Regions from separate parts of the Homo sapiens genome. Here region 2 is linked to region 1. The links are contacts of gene promoters, found by promoter capture Hi-C in blood cells and fetal thymus (Javierre and others, 2016). All regions are on one chromosome and are shown on one strand. Each heading gives the region's core, a stretch centred on a gene start or on the middle of the fragment in contact. The rest is flanking DNA. Distances are from core to core; before and after follow the strand shown.

What was found. Contacts are between HindIII fragments. The CHiCAGO score rates a contact against its expected background, and 5 or more counts as called.
Region 2: a fragment that was not itself captured here is called in contact with the fragment with the promoter of APBA1 in region 1 in 1 of 17 cell types (endothelial precursors); the score reaches 6.9 in endothelial precursors.

The regions. Positions count from the first base shown.
Region 1 is chr9:69,670,066-69,676,732 of GRCh38, forward strand. APBA1 (amyloid beta precursor protein binding family A member 1) reads right to left here and starts at 2,306. Exons shown (of 13, transcript NM_001163.4): 1 at 2,088-2,306. RefSeq lists silencers at 2,074-2,153, 2,334-2,383. The HindIII fragment of the contact is 15,920 bases long and covers 1-6,667 here.
Region 2 is chr9:69,925,067-69,931,733 of GRCh38, forward strand. No RefSeq gene overlaps it. Among named protein-coding and RNA genes, the nearest start is that of CFAP95, 110 kb to the left of the region's middle. The HindIII fragment of the contact is 3,216 bases long and covers 1,697-4,912 here.

The DNA of each region.
Region 1 (6,667 bases), core at 1,056-3,555:
ATTCAAAATTCATTTTTATAAATCTATCCTTAAATCTTGGATGACAGCCAACAACCAACCTCACATTAAAATCTTAGAAGGCTTGACTTGAAGAACATGGGGAAATTTACTTTACATAGACAGCTTCAAGAGCACCTTGTCTATATATCATTAAATAAGATACATGGGAAGAAAAAAAAGCATATGTGGATAGCCCTAGTTTTATTATTTTCACAACGATATCATGCAATCTTTGCCCATAAAAGAAAGCAAAACAAAAATTTTAAAAAAGAAAAATAAATCTCTGGTGCCAACATGTTGTATATTTACTTGTGTAGCCATGACTGCTACGGGCTTTTCGAAGAGAACCGGGCAGCCAGTTTGGATTCCGACAATGCAGTAGAATTTAAGGTGTTATGACTAAAACATGTCCTAAGCAGATTAAGCTAGTCATACAACATTTTAATAAAGAAGTGTCGAGATATTAAGTGTAAAGTGCACTCATTCCTATGAATACCGCAGGAGAAACATAGGTGAGGGGGAATCACACTGCCCTGGATACACATGAATATGCCATCTCCCTGCCTACCTCTACCCAACCCTACCTACACACACCTATCTTTACCACGCAGAGACAATTAAACAGCCATAGACTCTGGATGCATTTCTGTGTCCTTGTTCCCACTGGGTGAGTTGTTGCCAGCCTGACATTTTTCCAAATTCCCTACTAGTGGGCTCTATCAGGTAGGAAAGCAGGGACTTTACTGACCTGGGACCCCATCGCTGTGGGTCTCAGGAGATTTCAGTTTCCAAATGATACACGGCACCACCTAGCTATTGTGACAGCTGGGAGAGTGGATGTCACCAGCAGTAGAAATAAAGTATCCTGTTTCCTGAGGAAAACGCCCTGGCTGTGTGATGCTGACCAAGTGGGCACCAAACATTTCTCCGTGTGATATTTTTCTTCTTTTTAAAAGACCGCCCCCCGCCCCACCGCATCTCTCTATACGTATACACCTCCAGAGTTCATTCTAAAAGAACCAACACAAAGACCATCCATCCTCTAGCCATAAGGTTTTCAGTGCTTAAATGTGGAAGGAGAAGGTCTAGCTAGCATTGAAAGTTGTGGGGACAGGAAGAGGAATCTGATCATTCAACATCCTTCTCCTTCTGGTCAGACAAGAGAAAAACAATAGAAACTGCACAGTCAGGGAGTACAAGACCCTTATGGAACAGGTGCTAAGGAGAGAAGTAGTATCACAGGATGGAAGGCCCCTTCAAAACCAGGTACATTAGCAAGCCCAGAATGTGTAACGGTTATCCTATTTCCCTGCCATGTGCCTCAAAGCAACATGCTCACTTCCACATCCCCATGTCATGAGGCCAGAGGAAGGGGAAGCGAGAATCCCTACACTGGGCCATCCACACGCAGGAGCAGAACAGACACTGTGCTCAGAGTTGCAGGGTCAAAATAACAAACACTGTCCCACAGTCTTAGCCGGTGACATCAAGTAAGGGCAGCGGCAGATCTCTGGATTTGGGGCGCAGTTTGGGGAACGTGGATGCAACCACACGCGTACACACACATATACAGGATTTTACAAACCGGCCCCTATCCCACTGCCTCCCTCCACACTTCACACACCAAGTGCATCCTGCCCACCTCACCGTTTCCATCATCACATTCTTTCTCCAGGAGAGTCAGCCGAGAGATGAGGGGGTCCTAGCGGGGATTCCTGGAAATGTCACCCCCCAACACCTCCGTCCGCCACCCCATCCCCTCTGCTGTACCTTTTACACACACACTCTCACACACTCACTCCTGCCATGACTGTCATCAGGCCCGCCTGCTGCGCCCGAAGCCCGGCATCTCAGCGGGCACCGGACCCCAGGCGTCTCGCTCGCAACGCCGCCTTCCCCCGCCTCGCTAGCTGATGGTTCCAGGCACTGCCTCCTGGATGTCGCCTGCTGCCTCCGCTCCTCCGCACTATTGTTCCAGGCAGCCCCTCTCGCGTCCGGGGGCGCCCTTTGGCGAGGACCCGGGCTCCGTCGGGGGCCGCATCAGCGCCGGGCACCCCTTCTCACCCACCCCTCCCTGGCTGTGGTACCTTGCCTGACAGCTGGGTCCGCGGGCCCGCGGGAGCAGGCGGCGCTAGTGACAGCGCTGGTGCCAAGCCTGGGAATAAAGCTCCGCTCCAGCCGCTGCTGCCTCCAGCGCCACCATCTTCTCCCGCCGCAGCTGCCGCCGCCGCCGCCGCCGCCGGGACCGCAGCCGCCCTCGCCCAGCTCCGGCTCCGCAGCCGCTGCTCGGACCCCTCCGGTCTCGCGGCCCCACCCCCTTTCCCCACCCTCCCTCCCGCCCTCCAGCTAGCTCGCTGGCCCCTCGTGACGCGCGCTGGGGCCGGGCGGGCCTGCGAGGGAGGGCGCGGGGGAGCGCGCGCGCGCACGCCGCCTGCTAGTAGCGCCCCTGCCTCCCTCGCCCACTCGCGTGCGCGCGCGGCCCGCGAGCCCGCGGCGGCGGCGGCGGCACCGCTGATGTCCTCCGTGGGCCGCCGGCTGCAGCGCCCCTGCCCCGGCGCCGGTGGGCGTGCGGCACACCCGCGCCTCTCGCCTTCCCTCGCGTCCGGGTTCCGAAGGGCCCGCCCTGCCTTTCGGAATGGGTTCCACAGCCCCATCCTCTGGCTCCCGGCCGGACGCAAGGAGGGGAAAATGCAGCTGCATCCCCGAGGGGACTGACGGGGGCCTCCACCCTCCTCGGTGGCAACCCAGGTGGTCCCCAGTTTCCTAGCCAGCAGCTGTGGCCAACCTCTGCGCGAAGCAACGGGCCACGCTGCAGGACCACGAAGCCAGGCAGCCGCGTCGACTCCTGCAGGGTGTTCTCTCCGGAGTGACTCCCGAGCTTTCCCGCTTCCCAGGCCCCTTAGATATCGCCTGCGCTTCAAATTCGGAGATTGACGGCGTCTCCGGAATGCGTCGCAGTCCTGCGAGTTCTCCGCCAGGGGGAGAGCCGCGCGGGCTTGGGCCTGAGCGAAGACAGCCGGGCTGCAGCCCTCCAGGGGAACTGCCGAGTCCCGCCGGGGACAGCGGAGAGCCTGCGGATTGTGAAGCCGAGGAAGGCTCGGCTTGGTTTTCCTACCCGCTCCTCAGTTCTGGTTGATCGGAACTTAAGTGTCTTTGAGCCTAGCACAGGCCATCCGCCCTAGATATGGCTCCTAACTCGAGAGGCCACCCTTTGCGGCAGGGACCAGGTGGCAAGTGCTGTGCATTAATGAAAAGCTGTGGGCTAGACAGGCCCCGGGAGGCCTGGGCTCTGGCGCCAGCCCCACCTGTAATTGGCAATGCAATAGCTAAATCATTCCCCCTCTTAGAAACACAGATTTTTCCATAATAATGTTATAATGCACAAAGCCTTGTAGTTTGCAAAGCCCTCTCCGCACATGTATTCTCCAGTAAAATGAAGATAAGCGCTGGTTATCCAGATCCCTTGGGAAATGGATCTTTTACCACACCGTGTTTCCATATTATTTTAAGCACGTCTCTAGAGAAGTCTGGGGGTGTAGCCTAAAGCATTCTGAAAGTCTTGTTTTAGCTTTAAAATTCATATGAATTTTGCATTGTACTTTGTAATTTTTTTTTGCTTTAATAAAACAATAGCTACCTTCTCAAAAAGATTTTAGTAAAATTTAAAATTATATACTAGGAAGATGTCTGCTTGTCCTGTGACATTACTCATATTTTTTCCGGTGAATACTTATTTGGCATATGTACGAGCCAGACATGGTCCTTTTCCACCAGAGCTCACAGTACGCTGAAGGAAATAGGTATTCAACTATCAGACTGGCCAGGCGCGGTGGCTCACGCCTGTAATCCCAGCACTTTGGGAGGCTGAGTCCAGCAGATCACTTTAGGCCAAAAGTTTGAGATCAGCCTGGTCAACATGGCGAAACCCTGTCTCTACTAAAAACACAAAAATTAGCCGGGCGTGTTGGTGCACGCCTGTAATCCTAGCTACTCGGGAAGCTGAGGCACGAGAATGCTTGAACCGGGAGGCGGAGGTTGCAGTGAGCCGAGATCGCGCTACTGCACTCCAGCCTTGGTGTCTCAAAAAACAAACAAACAAATAAAACAATCAGACTAAGTGCAACTGTGATAAATTCTCAACTGCAAAGGCGCTAAGGTGCACGGGAAAACCTAATGTGGACTCTGGGACTAGGTAAGGCTTTCTAAGGAAATGACATTTCAGATCCCCCAGGAGAGGCAGCATTGAGACACTTCCAGGTAAAGGGAAGGAAATGTGAAAAGGCCCAAGCAGGTGGGGCCGAAGTGAGATGAGACTGGAGAGGCAGGCAGACTTTGTGGACCGTTTTTAAATAATGATTTTGTCTTATGAGCCTGGAAAGTCAATGAAGGGTTGCCAAGAGTTGGGAGCAGGCAAGCAGGATCACATTTCCGTTCCTGAAAGATGGCTGAGGTGGTTTGTGAGGAACTGATTCGTGGAGGGTCAGGATCCAGGGCGGAGAGAGTCTGAGCTTATCCTACTTAGTGAGTGTTTAGGGTTTTCTGTTTTTGCACTAACTGCTCTTTTGATTGTTTTTAGTTCTTGCCTCTGCTCTCCTGTGTACGCATCTAGGAGGCTTTCAGAGTGCTTCTCTGTAATAGTTTCTGTTTTGTTACTTTTAATCCACTGCAGTTTTAGGAAGGAAATGAACCCTGTTAGAATTTCAGGTTAAATAAGAGAATATAGGTTCTGAGTGAGAGGCTCTTTTCTGTGCATACACTTATTGCCATTTGGTTTGCTATCTCAGAGATCTTTCTGCTTATTTTCTACTTTTTGTGTTGCCTTTCCAGTTAGACTAGGTTCTTAGATGCATGAATAAGGGTTACATTATTGCTTTAATAATATCCTGGAATCTTACCTCGCAGGATTTTTGTGTAAAGAAAGTTATGTGAAATTTCTCTGCAAAGTATTCAGTGCCATATAAAGAAAGGTAATAATTGTTAGTTATAATGGTAGCTTAGAGACCTCCAAAACTAATTACTTACCAAATGTTCATATGTGGAAATTTCCCTCCCTCCCCCACCCCCATGAAAAACACATATTCCTATTTCTTCTGGATAGCATGAATCATTGTCTTAAGTGCTCTTGTTACTCTGTGCCTTCGCTGGCAGGAAACTCAAAGCCAAATTTTCAGATCATTGTAGGAAATGAGTGGATCCATATGGCATGTAGATCCATGTCTTAATCCCTCCTTTGGTCTTGTTCTATTCTATTTATAGATTTCCTGTGCCTGCTTTATTGATGTTTTTCTTTTTAGTAGATCTCTTATAAGGCACTCCAATCCACCACTCCAATCCACCTTCTCCTGTTAACAGGGTCGAAACTGCTATTCAAGTGTTTCAGGAAGCAGTATATAAAATACTGGCAGCCAGGCATGGTGGCTCATGCCTGTAATCCCAGCACTTTGGGAGGCCAACGTGGGAGGATTGCTGGGGAGTTCAAGACCAGCTTGGGCAACATAGTAAGACCCCCGTCTCTCAAAAAAAAAAAAAAATTAGTGGGCATGGTGGCGAATTCCTGCAGTCCTAGCTACTTGGGAGGCTGAGATGGGAGGATTGCTTTAATCCAGGAGGTTGAGGCTGCAGTAAGCTATAATTGTGCCATAGCATTTCTGCCTGGGTGATAGAGCAAGACCATGTCACTAAAAATAAAACACTGGCAACCTGCCAACCATTGAAGCAGGTAACAATAGTATAGACACTGTGCCAAGTGACTTGGGTTTAAAGTAAAGCCTTAACCACCACTGCATGTGCACCTAAAGTCTCCGTGCATGCCAGTATAAAACCTCATATTATTGGCAAACTTAAGTATGTCTCCCAATGGCTCATAGATAATCTCCTTTAGTTTAATCTCTGAGGTCCCAAACTCCATCAGCCTACACTATACCAATACAGACGGTTCCTGTCTTATGATGGTTCGACTTAGAAGTTTTTGACCTTACTTTTGGGCTTATCAGGGTATTAATTTTTTTTTTTGTCAGTGCCTCACTCTGTTGCCCAGGCTGGAGTACAGTGGTGCAGTCTTGGGTCACTGCAACCTCTGCCTCCCGGGTTCAAGCGATTCTCCTGCCTCAGCCTCCCTAGTAGCTGGGACTATAGGCGCCCACCACCATGCCCGGCTAATTTTTGTATTTTTAGTAGAGACAGGGTTTCACCATTTTGGCCAGGCTGGTCTCAAACTCCTGACTTCAAGTGATCCACCCGCCCTGGCCTCCCAAAGTGCTGGGATTACAGGCGTGAGCCACTGTGCTTGGCCTTAAATGCATTTTTGACTTATGTAACCCCACCATAAGTCAAGGAGTATCTGTATATGTTACCGTCACAAGCACTGTTGGTCACTTGGTAAAAGGACAGAGATTCAAAAACTTTTATTCATTTAGGGTTATTTTTATCAACAAAGACTTGAAGATTCCATGATTCACTACATCCATTCAAACTCTGCAAGAGTGTGACCATATCTTCCAGCTTTTGATATGGTTCTGGATAGCTTAAATTAGACATCCTTCTTCTGACATAAGTTGATACTTTTCCTTGATTTCAAGTTCTTTAGTGATTACCCTCTTTCTGTATCAGTCCTTGAGTTTATGAGCTGAGGTTGTATGTAAGACAAGCATAGAACAACCTTCGGTAA
Region 2 (6,667 bases), core at 2,055-4,554, 260 kb after region 1:
CCTGCAGAATGGTGAGCCAAATAAACCTCTTTTCTTTATAAATTACCCACCCTCAGGTATTCCTTTAGAGTAATGCAAATGAACTAATACAATATATTATCTAAAATGTCCCATTTCCAACAAAAAATTATGCAAAGAAACAGGAAAGCATGATCCATACGCAGGAAAAAAGCAGGCAACACAAACTGCCTATGAGAGCAACCAGATGTCATATTTAACAGGAAAGTATTTCAAAATAGCCACCAAAAATGTTGGAGATAAATGCTCGGTGCCGCAAAGTGAAACCAGCACTCAGGCAAAAGTTTTTGCAGCAAGGCAACTTACTTCTGCAGAAGGGTGCTACTCGCATCAATCACAATTGCAAGAGCACACTGAATAAAGGAAAGCAGGGGTTTTTATTCGTAATGCAATCCCTACATCTGTGTCACTCCCCCATGGGCTGGGGTCAGACTGCACAATCTAAACTGACCTGATGGGCTATTTGTGAATATTTTCCCAAATAAGGAAGGGAAGGGGAATGTGAGGTACAGTGGTAGGACATGCAGTTTCAGTGGGAGGAATTGGTGTAGAGCAGGTAGCCAAGGGAACAGATGTGAAGTTATTGATTAGAACTGACGGGAAGGTTGTTTACAGTAACTAGGGACAAGGAGGCATGGAGAACAAGAAAGTTGAGTTTGAGAACAAAGAACAAGGAAGTTAACAAGCTAAACATGTGAAGAGGAATAAATTTATTGTATCCTACAATTTCCCCCCTCTTAATTTTTATAGTCCTTCCTCTTCAGACCTTTTTAAGATGTCTTGGCTTTGCTGTTCGACTTCATCCTCTAAAAGGAACAACTTATCTGAATAAGGTGGAGGAGAGCTAAGGGAGGCTTTAGTAAGTACTGTTTCTATAAGCCTTTGTACTAGCCCATGGATGCATGGTATGACACAACACCCAACAAGAATGAGTACACCTATTATGGCTGCAAGAGAAGTAAGCACTGAGGCTGTGATTCCTTTCCATTTACCAAATCACCTTTCTAGCTAGCCATGCTTAGAAAGGGTTATCAACTCTAGAATTTTTAGCTAATTCATTGGATAAAGAGGTAAGTCTCTGTAAGGCCTTGTTATGTTCCCATTGGGGGCAGTATTGTTTGGGATGAAGGTACAACATTGAGTTTTAATTATAATGCAAACTCCACCTTTTTCAGCTAACATCATGTCTAGGGCCATTCTGTTTTCCCAAACCATCTGGCTAGTAGGCCCTAACTGGTCAGCTATTACTTTGATGGCATCTCTAGTGTAATTAATAAATCATTGCTGTTTATAATAGATGTAATTTATCCAATTTACATTTTTATTAATAGTTACTCATGGAAATACTGATTCAAATCCTGCAGCTATTTGGTCTGGGCTTTGAATTTATCAGGTACTCCCCGTGGGACTCTAATTGCATCTAAATAAACTTGAGAGTCAAAAGACCCATAAGGGGCTTCTCTTATTTTATGGTGTTGCATTTTTTCTTTTTCTGGTTGATGAAATGCCAGGGTGAAAGGGATAGCCAATTAGACAAGAGCATAAGTACCACTCCAGTTACTTGACAGAGTGTCCAGTAAGGGTCTGCCACAATACCACCACACATCTGCTCGAGGATGGCTAAGGGCAGACTGATGGGTAAGCTTCTAGAAGGGCTTAAGCTCACTGCATCCTGTTAAGCTTCCAAGGAATGCCAAGTTTTCCCCTTGTTGTGAGAGACACAAGGTGAAATTGACGTTGGGAGATGGAAGCTGGATGGCCTTCGGGGGCTGACCCGCAGGGTGTTGGATTTCAGGATAGAGCAGAAAGAGAGCTTGGCATTATTTATTGTCCCAAGCTGTAGAATCCTGGAAGAGAGCTATCATGCAGCCCATGCCTGGTTGACTAGCGGACCATCCAAGTGGAAAGAGGACAATCTGGGCCTCTGGCTGGCCGTGCACACAAGCATAACAATTGCTTTTGTTTAACATGTGGACAGAATATTTGATCCATTCCAACCAGGAATTTGCATCTTGATATCCTGTTTCAATTGCTAAAGTTTGCCTTAAATCATTTACTTCTACAATATCTACCTTAGTCTTATCATTGGGTATAGAGGGGATAGCAGTTTGATTAGAAGAAGGCTTAGAAGGAGAAGAGAGGAAAGGGGGTGAAGAGGATGAGGGATTAATAAAATGCATTTCAAAAGTCCCTATGAGGTCTGTGCCAGCCAAGTTGGCTCCCATGCTGTAGAAGCGGCTCAAAGTAGGTCTAGGGTCGGTAGAGGTGGAAGTGAGAATTGAAATTTGCACTGGATTACATTGGTTATACTGGCAATTGGGGTTGGAGGTGCTTTCTTTAGTAAAGTGAATGTATGGTTTTAAGGATACACAACCACCTGTCAATGAGGTCTAGCCTTGATATTTGGTTGTCCACAGAACATCATTCCTGCTATGGCAGACCTGTTTCTCTATATTTGTTAAAGAGCAAGAGTCTTGGTAGGGGGAACCTCTATTTTAAAGGGGCAGAGATACTTTTCTAAGGCTAAGAGTTTCCTTTGACTTTGAAGATCTCTACAGGGTATGACTAAACAAGCATCAAACGTAATAACTTTGGGGGAGTTTGATTTAGTTACATTGATAACAAGGTGGTCAGCAATAGAATGAGAAAAGAAGAAAGAGTAATAGAATAGATGAAAGAGAGTTAAACTTAGCTTTAGTTTGAGGGGGTTTTCCCCTGGGACAATGGCCCATGACTGCGGAGGTGGTGGTGCTTTCTTGACTCAGGTGTGATGGGTCCATCCTTTTTCTGCTATCAGGACTGTGGTTCCAGTGGTTAGAAGCACTTAGGTGAAGTCCTTCCCAGGACAGCTCAAGTTTTTCTTCTTTCTAGCTTTTGATGAGGACATGATCCCCAGGCTGATGTTGATGTACTGGGAACTCCAGGGGCGGCGCCTGTGCTAGGAGACCTTTGGTTTTTAAAAAAAGAGAAAGTAGAGGAGAGACCAAGTATATAATTCCTGAGGAATTGATCTTTTGTTTCAAATGTAGGAATGCCAGCAGTGGAGTGTAAATAAGGCAATTAGAGCATCTCATAAGGAGAAAGGCCAATATCTTTCCAAGGAGCAGCTCAGATTCTTAAAAGGCAATAAGAAGACATTTGGTCCATGGCAACTGAGTCTCTAGAACTAATTTGGTTATGTGGTTCTTTAAGGTCTAATTCATCCTTTCTATTCTTCTTGAGGAAGGTGGGTGCCAAGGAGTATGATATTCCCATCTAATGTCTAGGGCTTGGGATAGCTTTTTAATGATATGTGCTATGAAATGGGTTCCATTGTCTGAATCAATATTTTCTATTGGTCCAAACCTGGGCACTATCTTTTCAGTTAATGCTTTAACTACATTATTGGCCATTGCATTTGAAAAGGGAATAGCTTCAACTCAATGAGTAAGGTGATCTGCTGTTACTAATAAGTACTTTAGGCGACCGATTGGGGGCATTTCAGTGTAGTCAATTTGAACACTTTGGAATGGTCTTAGCCCTGGATCCCTCCCCGCAAGGGGCGATTTCTTTGTAACTTGTTTGTTGGGTTTTTTTTTTTTACATATGAAGCAACTATCTTTAATCTGTTTGGCTACAGTATAAGTTCCTGAACACCCATAAACCCTGAGAACTGCATCACACATAGCTTGGGGTCCCCAGTGGGTCCCTTGATGCAGATGGGACAGGATTTCCTTCATGACGAGTTTGGATAGTATTTCTCATTGATCTGGTAACACCCATTTTCCTTCTGAGTTTTCTTTGGCTCCTATTCTTATTAATTTTTCCTTTTCTGCAGCAGAGAAGATAGAGGTTGCAGCAGGGGGAGGAAGACAAGGAGTTAAGTGAAAGATAGGTGTTTCAGATGAAACAGCAGCCTGCTTAGCTGCTTGATTTGCAAGGTTATTTCCCCAACTTGTAAAGGAAAAGTCTTTTTAGTGTCTGGGGACATGTACAATGGCTATTTCTTCTGGCAACTGGAGATTGTTTAAAACATGGATGATTAGCTCTTCATGGGCAAGATTTTGGCCTTTAAAATTAATAAGAGGTTTCTCAGGCCAAATTTTTCCAAATGTATGTGCTACTCCAAAGGCATACTTAGAATCAGTATAAATAGTTTCTTCCTTGTTCTGTAAGTGTTTTAAAGCCTGGCTGAGGGCAAATGGTTCACAAACTTGGGCAGATCAACTATTGGGCAACCTTCCTGACTCTATTTCTTCAAGAGTTTCTCTATCAATTACTGAATACCCATTATGCCTTTCTCCTTTAATTACTTGGGAGGAACCATCTATAAATAAGCATCGCCCCATTTTGAAAGGGGTCTCTCCTAGATCTGGCCTGACCTTCATTTGGTAGTCAATTAAATCTAAACATAGGTGTTCTCTTTTTAGATTTGGGTCTCCTGTCAAGAAACCTGCTGGGTTGAGTGAATTATCAGTAGTTAAGGTTAAATTCATCTTTTTTCTAGTAGAATAGCCTCATATTTTAATTTTTCAAGATTCAATTTCAGTATTTCAAGATTCTGGAGTCAGTGAGCACCTTCCTGCTTTTTTATTTAAAGTAGCTCTAACTTGGTGGGGTGTGCTTACAGTTAATTTTCCCCCAAAGGTTAATTTTCTGGTTTCTTCAACTAATACTTCTGTAGCTGCAACAGATTGAAAACATTGAGGCCATCTACAGGTATTGGGTGTAAAACTTTTGATAGGAAGGCTATGGGCTGCCAGCGGCCACTGGGTTCTTGAGTGAGCACCCCTAAAGCTACCCTGTTATTTATGTTAACAAAAAGATGAAATGGCTTTTCTAGGGAAGGTAAGGCTAAAAAACCTGATCGGCTTCCTCAGAAGTCCACAGGAGATGGTCCAGCTTCCACTAGGTAAGCTTTTCATATAAAAGTTTACTTTTTAGGGCATATGAGTCAATCCATAAGCAGCAGTATCCAACTAATCCTAAAAATGTTCTGAGTCCTTGCTTAGTTTGAGGCAGGGATAAGGACACGATGCCTTCAACTCACTCAGGCCCTATTCTTCACTTACCTCCACTGATAAAAGTGGCCTAAATATTTAACTTCAGTCTCCACATACTGAAGCTTTCCCTTTGAGACCCATAGCCCCTCAAATTCCAGATGGTTAAGAATATGTGTAGAGAAGTCAGCTACTTTTTTTACATCTTCACCAGATATAAGAATATCACCCACATACTGGACCAGGCATATCTACTTTGGGATGACAACTTTTTCTGACACTTGTTCTAGATTTGGCCAAAAAGGTTTAGGGAGTCTGTGAACCCTTGAACTCCATTGATACTGTTGTTTTTGCCCTGAATGGGGGTCCTCCCACTCAAAAGCAAATGTGTCTCAGCTGTCTTTAGCCAAGGGGCATGCCCAGAAGGCATCCTTTAAGTCTATTACTGTAAACCACTGATGATTATATGGAATTTTGCTGAGAATGGTGTATGGGTTGGGGACAACAGGATGGGTAGTCTGGACTATTTGACTGATGGCTTTAAGATCTTGCACCAGTCAGTATGTCCCATCTGCTTTCTTGACTGGCAATACTGGAGTGTTATAAGGGGACATACAGGGTACAAGGGAGTCCATCTTTAATAAGACTTTCAATTATAGGCTTTAACCCTATTCTGCCCTCTAGGGGAATGGGGTATTTTTTTCCTCCTCACTACTTCCCCAGTGGGTTTTTAGCTTGATGTGGCTTGGAGGGATTTGGAGTTTCCCTAGGTTTCCCTCCCTTGACCAGACATTGGGATTACTGTATTTTTCATCTGCAGTGGTGAGTAGGTTTAATGAGGCAAGAAATCCTTTAGGGTGAACTTGTAGGCCTATGCCTAATTTTAGCATTAAGTCTCTTCCCAATAGATTAGTTCCTGCCTCAGGGATCAATAAAAATTGGATATGAGTCAATCAATCTTGGTATTTAACTTCTGTACTTTCTAAGATTTTTGCCTTAAATCCTTCTCCTTTTATCCCAGAGACTAAAAGTTCTTCTGAAGAGCAGGCAATGTTAGGTGGAGGGAAACAAATGGAGAAGTGAGCCACTCCTAAATTGACTAAAAAGGTGATAGGCTCCTGTTTGGGTCCCACCTCTAAATTTATCAAGGGCTCCTGGTGGGATTCGAAGCAAAAGAGACAGAGCCCCTGACTCCCCTATTCTTCCTCAAAAGTCATGAGTGGTAGGGCTTCTTTCTGCCTTTGCAATTCAGGACATTCTCTCTTGAAGTGGCCTGCTGTTCCACATTTGTAGTACCTATCCTGTCTCTCCACTGTCTCAATCCTGGGATTCTTTAGCTTTGCTCCCCCATATTTTTTAGATGGTCTGGTAGATGAGGGGCGGGGTCCTCTAGATGGAGGCTTGTGTCCTTTAAACAGAGATCTGGACCCTTTATAGTTTCTGGCCCCCTGGAAGCTATATTTAGAAATGTGTGGGTTTGGAGCCACCTGCTGGAAAGTGTATAACATGAGTTTTGCCTTTTGTTTTTGCTTTTCTTTGTCTCTCTTTACGTACACTTTTGGAGCTTCCCTAAGGAGTTCACTCAGAGGTTGGTTTTCCCAATTTTCTAATTTTTGTAACGAAATATCTGGCTAACTTTTAGTGACAAAATGGAGCTTTAACATTCCCTG